2 separate regions of the Homo sapiens genome follow, and region 2 is linked to region 1. Evidence: promoter capture Hi-C in human tissues and cell types (Jung and others, 2019). All regions are on one chromosome and are shown on one strand. The core of a region is centred on a gene start or on the middle of the fragment in contact, and the rest is flanking DNA. Distances in the headings are between cores, read along the strand shown.

Region 1 (3,629 bases), core at 506-3,005:
TGGAGACATAATGAGACCCAGCCTCAAAACAAACAAACAAATAAATAAAACCACAACATACCACAACACATCTACCAGAATGACTAAAAAATAGTGACAATGCCAAATGGTAGTCAGGATGTGGAGAAACTGGGATTACAGGGGTGAGCCACTGCGCCCAGCCGGAAATGCCCAAAAGTTATCCTGTATGGTGTAAAAGGGGAGTAACCCTCAGTTCTGAGGGAAATCCCTGCCCCTTTCCTAGGGATACAGAAAACTCATGAATAATCCATCCTTTGTTTAGCATACAGTCAAGAAGTAACTATAAGTATACTTGACTGAGTATACTTATAGTATGGGCTCGCTGCTCTGTCTATGGAGTAGTCATTCTTTTATTCCTTTAATTCTCTAATAAACTTGATTTTAGTCGGAGGTGGTGGCTCATGCCTGTAATCCCACCACTTTGGGAGGCCAAGGCAGGCAGATTGCTGGAATTCAGGAATTCGAGACCAGCCTGGCCACCATGGAAAAACCCTATCTCTACAAAAAATACAAAAATTAGCTGGGCTTGGTGGCTCACACCTGTGGTTCCAGCTACTAGGAAGGCTGAGGTGGGAAGTCACTTGAACCCGGGAGGCAGAGTGCACCACGGCACTCCAGCCTAGGTGACAGAGCAAGACTCTAAAAAAAGAAAATCCAAAAACCCTTACTTTCAGTTAAAAAATTTTGTTTTCAATTCATCTACTGACTCCCTGGTATCTACAACTTAACTAGTCTAGTGAACTTGGGGAAGTTACTCCTTTTTTTTTTTTTAAGACAGAATCTTGCTCTATTGCCCAGGCTGGAGTGCAGTGGCACGATCCTGACTCACTGCAACCTCCACCTCTTGGGTTCAAGCGATTCTACTGCTTCAGTCTCCCGAGTAGCTGGAATTATAGGCACATGCCACCACACCCGGCTAATCTTTATATTTTTAGTAGAGTTGGGGTTTCACCATTTTGGCCAGGGTGGTCTCAGACTCCTGGTCTCAAGTGATCCGCCCACCTTGGCCTCTCAAAGTGCTGGGATTACAGGCGTCAGCCACTGCTCCTGGCCTCTAGTTACTTCTTAAACTCTCTGAACCTTGTTTTTTTTAAATCCTCTAAATAAGGATAACAGTTCATAATTCCTAACTTTTGTTATGAAAATTAAAGGAGTTAATATATATTATGTGGAGAAATGTAAATTCTAGTTCAAAAAATAGAAGAAATAATGTAAATACTGATTTATTTATCTGGTGAGAAATGCAAGGACATTTTTGTTTGGTGGTGGGTATTAAAAGGCTAAGGTATTTATATTCCACTGGATACATTTGGAAGAATGATTAACAGTGTTATTTCAAAATTTCAACATTGAGAACACACTAGGACTTACATCTTTTTCAACTCATCATGATGAAAAATTTTGTCAGCGAAATGTGTTAGGATTGTTTTATAAAAATCTTTCACGTCGATGAGCAAATATCTTAGAAGACTACTGCTGAGGAGAAATGTTATTTATCCAGAGAGTTGCCTTAATTAGGAGACCCTACATAGCGCCCAGTAGAAATGTAATAAAGGCATTTCACTTATTCCCTTCCTCAGCCCTGCCGTGAACAAAATTGAATGAAATCAACCACGCTCCGAGTTCTCGCCTAGACGCAGCCTGTAGTAGCCAGGTTTCACCACTAGGTGGCACACGCCAAAGGCTCCGGCGGGGGCGAGCCGCCCGAGCACGCCTCTCGGTGGCCCCGTGGTATCTCTCGGCTTCCGTTGAGCACCAAGCAAGATGGCAGCTTCCGAGACGGTTAGGCTACGGCTTCAATTTGATTACCCGCCGCCAGCTACCCCGCACTGTACGGCCTTCTGGCTTCTGGTCGACTTGAACAGATGCCGAGTCGTCACAGATCTCATTAGTCTCATCCGCCAGCGCTTCGGCTTCAGTTCTGGGGCCTTCCTAGGCCTCTACCTGGAGGGGGGGCTCTTGCCCCCCGCCGAGAGCGCGCGCCTTGTGAGAGACAACGACTGCCTCAGGTGCGCGGCGCAGGGAGCGGGACGGCCGGGTGGGCGGCGGGCGGGGGACGCGCCTGCGCACGCCCGGGCCTGAAGCCGCTAGACCTGGTAGTGGAGGGGATGGGGGATGGGGAAGGGGACGAGGGTTGGAGGGGGGTGGGGCTGTAAAAATGCACGTTCGCGAACCCCGGAGATCCTGATTGGTGTAGTCAACTTTGGGGCTCAGGAATCTGCATTTTATTATTATTTTTTATTATTATTTTTTTTTTTTTGAGACGGAGTCCTGCTTTGTCACCCAGGCTGGAGTACAGTGGCGCGATCTCGGTTCACTGCAACCTCCACCTCCCGGGTTCAAGCAATTTTCCTGCCTCAGCCTCCCGAGTAGCTGGGACTACAGGCGTCCGCCACCACGCCCGGCTAATTTTTGTATTTTTAGTAGAGATGGGGTTTCACCATATTGGTCAAGGTGGTCTCGAACTCCTGACCTCAGTTGATCCGCTTGCATCGGCCTCTCAAAGTGCTGGGATTGCAGGCGTGCACCACCGCATCCTGCCCCTATTATTTTTATTTTTGAGACTGAGTCTCATTCTGTCACCCAGGCTGGAGTGCAGTGGCGCGATCTCAGCTCACTGCAGCCTCCACCTCCCGGGTTCAATCGATCCTCCCACCTCAGCCTCCCGAGTAGCTGGGCTTACAGGCGGGCGCCACCATGCCCGGCTAATTTTTTGTTTGTTTGTTTGTATTTTTAGTAGAGACGGGGTTTCACCGTGTTGGCCAGGCTGGTCTTGAACTCCTGACGTTAAGTGATCCTCCCGGCTTCCCAAAGTGCTGGGATTACAGGCGTGAGCCTCCGCGCCTGGCTGGAATCTGCAGTGTAACGAGCATCCTTCCCGGGATGCTTCTGATGACAGGAGAATCAAACTTGGAAAATCCCTGATGCCTAAGGGCAGGGCCAGGCTTTCTTTCAGCCTTGATTTAGCACATCCGCGCTTAGCTAGGCACTGTGCGACTCTGTTGCGTGCCCATGGTGCAGATGTGCCGGAGACCCGGCCTTACCCATGGCGGCCTTCAGGGTCAGGTGCAGGAAGCTGACAAAGGGGAATCGTTGTGTTTTCTTCATAACCTGCTGTTGTCCAGCCTTAGTTCTCATGTGCCCAGTGTCCCCTGAGACTTCTGGTGGCGTATCATTTTGTGTCTCACCCAGACATTTTGGGATTCTCTCAAATAAGTGTCTTGAGTCCTTTTGGGCTGTAAATTGGGAAACACAAAATAATCTTAAATATGCTTTTGGAAGTTAAAAAAATGATAATGAGATGAGTATCCAGGAGCAATTGTAGTGTGAATTGCTGAAATGTGGTTGAGTTGCCACAGTAAGATGATGGTATCTGATCATTCCAGTTTGGATTCATATCTTGGACTGATTTATTCAGACTTTTTTTTTTCTTTTTTAAATAAAGAGACTGGGTTTCCCATGCCCAGGCTGGAGTGCAGTGGTACGATCATAGCTTGCTGTAACCTTGACTTCCTGGGCACAGGCAATCCTCCCACCTCAGCCTCCCGAGTAGTTGGGACTTCAGGCCAGGCAACCACGCCTGGCTAATTTTTGTATTTGTTGTAGAG
Region 2 (3,629 bases), core at 354-2,853, 890 kb before region 1:
AGGACAGCCAGACCGGAAATGCTCACGATGTGAAGTGAATGGTGAGGTAGGGGATTATTTCCATTCACCCACAGCTCTCTCCCTATCTGTGTATCTGGGGAAGGCCTCAAAGGAAAGCTGGGCCTGGGAGAGAGGGAGGGCTGGGTATGCACAGGCAGTGAAGGGAAGGCTGAGATGACAGCATCCTCATTTGTCCTAACTTGGCTTTATTTATCCATGCTGTTCACTGGAAAACTCTGAGAGCTGTGGGCCAAGCACCAGGCCGGGTGTGGGGAGGCAGAGCTAAAAGTCCTAGTTCCTGCCCTCAAAAAGGCCCCTGTAGCCAGACTCAGACAGGTAAACAGAGTTACAACACAGACATAGCCCTGAAAGAGATAAGCATAGGAAGGGAGGGAGCAGGTCTGGGCACTCACCCGATCTTACCGAGTGTGTGCTGGGGGCTGAAAAGCTTTTCCACCTGAACTGATTCTTGACAGTTCCTTGAAGCCTAGGAAGGGGGTCTGAAGGGGAGCTCTCAGGAGAGGGGCACAAGCCCAACAGCCGGAAGGAAAGAGAAGGTACTCTGACTCCCCCCCCCCTTTTTTTTTTTTTTTGAGATGGAGTCTTGCTCTGTCGCCCCAACTGGAATGCAGTGGCACGATCTCAGTTCACTGCAACCTCCGCCTCCTGGGTTCAAGCAATTCTCTTGGCTCAGCCTTCCAAGTAGCGAGTAGCTAGGATTGTAGGTGCCAACCACCATGCCTGGCTAATTTTTAAATTTGTAGTAGAGACGGGGTTTCATCACGTTGGCCAGGCTGGTCTCGAACTCCTGACCTCAAGTGATCCACCCACCCCGGCCTTCCAAAGTGCTGGGATTACAGGCGTGAGCAGCTGTGCCTGGCTGCCTCCTCCTTTAATAGCCCTCCCTGCCCTTCATCCTCCTGGTCCTCAGACTCAGGAAGCCTACAATTCTTTTTTTTTTAACGGATCCTGATATAATCCTCTCTCTCTTTTTTTAGAGAAAAGGGCTCACTTTGTCACACAGGTTGGGGTGCAGTGGCACGATCATAGTTCACTGCAGCTGCGAACTCCTGGGCGCAAGCAATCTTCTTGTCTCAGCCTCATGAGTAGCTAGCACTACCAGCTTGTGCCACTGCACTGGCTAACTTTTTTCTTTCTCTTCTTTTCTTCTTCTTTTTTTTTTTTTTTTTTTTTTTTTTTTTGTAGAGACAAGGTCTCGCTATGTTGGCCAGGCTAGTCTCAAACTCCTGGCCTCAAGTCATCCTCCCGCCTTGGCCTCCCAAAGTGCTGGGATTACAGACATGATCCTCCACAGCTGGCCTGACATAATTCTTAAACTGTGTATTGAATATACTGTATTGCTTTCCTCCCTTTAAAGCTAATTGCTCCCTGATTTTAGCTGTCATAGGTGAGTAGCAGCATTCATGATTTCATCAGTGTGCTGGGAGTTTCACTTACCAAAGCTGTTCCACTACTGGGGATGATGCTCTTCCTCATTTTGTCTGACAAATTCCCACACAATATTTATTTATTTATTTTTGAGACGGAGTCTTGCTCTGTTACTCAGGGTGGAGTGCAGTGGTGCAATCTCAGCTCACTGCAACCTCCGCTTCCTGGGTTCAAGTGATTCTCCTGCCTCAGCCTCCCAAGTAGCTGGGATTACAGGTGTGTGCCATGACACCCGCCTAATTTTTTTTATTTTTTATTTTTTATTTTATTTTTAGTAGAGACGAGGTTTCGCCATGTTGGCCAGGCTGGTCTCGAACTCCTGACCTCAAGTGGTCCACCCGCCTTGGCCTCCCAAAGTGTTGGGATTACAGGCATGAGCCATCACGCCTGACCTCCACGCACTATTTAAATACGGGCATTGTCACAAAGATGTGGGCAGAGTGATGGGAAGCCACAAGGGATGGCCTAGACCCCGTGGCTAATAACAGAGGGGTACAGCTTGCCAACTACGTCTAGGCTTGAAGGAGCAGGAGAGGGACGGTGGCTGGAACCTGGTGAGAGAGCTGTGATTTTATGTTCTAGAACTTTATGTTCCAGGAGGGAGCCCGCTGGCAGTACCAACTGGAATCCAGCCAGAAGCAGAGGGCAAGGAGCTGGTGGATGCAGGCCACAGAAGCCAGCCTCCCGAGGCACAGAACAGGGCGAAGGACGGCAGAGAGTGGGTGTGGAACTGCTTGGGCAAATGGGAACTATTCAGCACTTACTGATCTATGTTAGGGGCTGAGCTGTGTCTCCCCAAAAATCATATGTTGAGGTCCTAACTCCAGTACCTCAGAATGTGACTATAATAGGAGGTAGTCTTTAAAGAGGTAATTAAGTTAAAATGAAGTCAGTAGGGTGGGCCCTAATCCAATAAGACTGGTGTCCTCATAAGAAGAGATTAGGACAAAACCTTCCCACACAGAGGAAAGACCATGTGAAGACGTGGGAGAAGAAAGCTGTCTCCAAGGCAAGGAGAAACTAGCCAAGTGCAGAATAAACTAAACTTGCAGACACCTTGATCTTGGACTTCTGGCCTCCAGAATAGGGAGAAAATAAATCTGTGTTTAAGCCACCCACTTTGTGTGCAAGTGGTGTTAGGGCAGGCCTAGCAAACTTCATACAATCAACAAGCTATTCAGCACATAACTTAATATTTATGTATTTACCTCTCTGTCTTCCCTACTGGACCGTTGGATTCTCTAAGACTCAGAATAGTCAGGTAGGTGTTTATATGCTTCTGGAACGAACGGATCATCTAACAAGAAAGTAAAACAGTAAGGCAATCTATGAAATATTATCAAAATGCTGCAGTCCAGGTGGCAATGGGTGGATGACACAGCACAACAGCAATCGTGTTGCTGTTACAGCCATCAGGCTTGTTGCTGCTCACAGGCACTCACTATGTCCCAGGTGCCGTGATTAGTGCTTTACATGAATGATCTCTTTTACTTTTGCAACAAGCCACGAAGATAGTTGACACTGCCATCCAGATTATTATTATTATTATTATTATTATTATTATTATTATTTGAGACAGGGTCTTGGCTCTGTTGACCAGGCTGGAGTGCAGTGGTGTGATCATGGCTCACTGCAGCCTTGAACTCCTGGGCTCAGGCCATCCTCCCACCTCAGTCCCCTGAGTAGCTGGGATTACAGGCATGCACCACCACACCTGGCTAATTTTGCCCAGGCTGGTTTTGATCTCCTGGCTTAAGCAATCCTCCCACACTGGCCTCCCAAAATGTTGGGATTACAAGCATGAGCCACTGAGCCCAGCTCCACATTTTAACAGTTGGAGAAACAGAGGCTCGAAAAGTTACATAACTTGCTCAGAGTGAAGCAATTAGTGGGCACGTCTACAATGAGACAGTGGGATTAATATGAGGCCGAGTGGTGTTGTAGGAACATGGCCTTTGGGAGTTTACAAGCACCACTTCCTTATCTGTAAGATTAGCAGGACATTACCTATGTCAGCAGGTGGTTGAACAACTGAATGAGACACTTGAGGTTCCTTGGTACCTCCCGCGGCACAGTGGTGCGTGGTGTAAGTGCCCCAGGCCCTCACAGCCTTGGGCGGCTGTGGTCCCCACTCAAGAAGACAGCCTCAAATGTCCATTCTGCCTGCCCCCTGCTGCCCG

Evidence for each region. Contacts are between HindIII fragments. The study calls those that stand out against the background at their distance.
Region 2: a contact is called between a fragment that was not itself captured here and the fragment with the promoter of COIL in region 1, in 1 of the 25 tissues and cell types used here (spleen).

What each region holds. Positions count from the first base shown.
Region 1 is chr17:56,959,176-56,962,804 of GRCh38, reverse strand. COIL (coilin) reads left to right here and starts at 1,755. Exons shown (of 7, transcript NM_004645.3): 1 at 1,755-2,030. The coding sequence starts at 1,786. LOC105371836 (a long non-coding RNA gene) reads right to left here and starts at 1,657. Exons shown (of 4, transcript XR_934875.4): 1 at 1,393-1,657. RefSeq lists enhancers at 1,674-1,723, 1,734-1,873, 1,623-1,917 and a silencer at 2,044-2,153. The HindIII fragment of the contact is 17,787 bases long and covers 1-3,629 here.
Region 2 is chr17:57,852,320-57,855,948 of GRCh38, reverse strand. No RefSeq gene overlaps it. Among named protein-coding and RNA genes, the nearest start is that of MRPS23, 4.1 kb to the right of the region's middle. The HindIII fragment of the contact is 4,394 bases long and covers 1-3,629 here.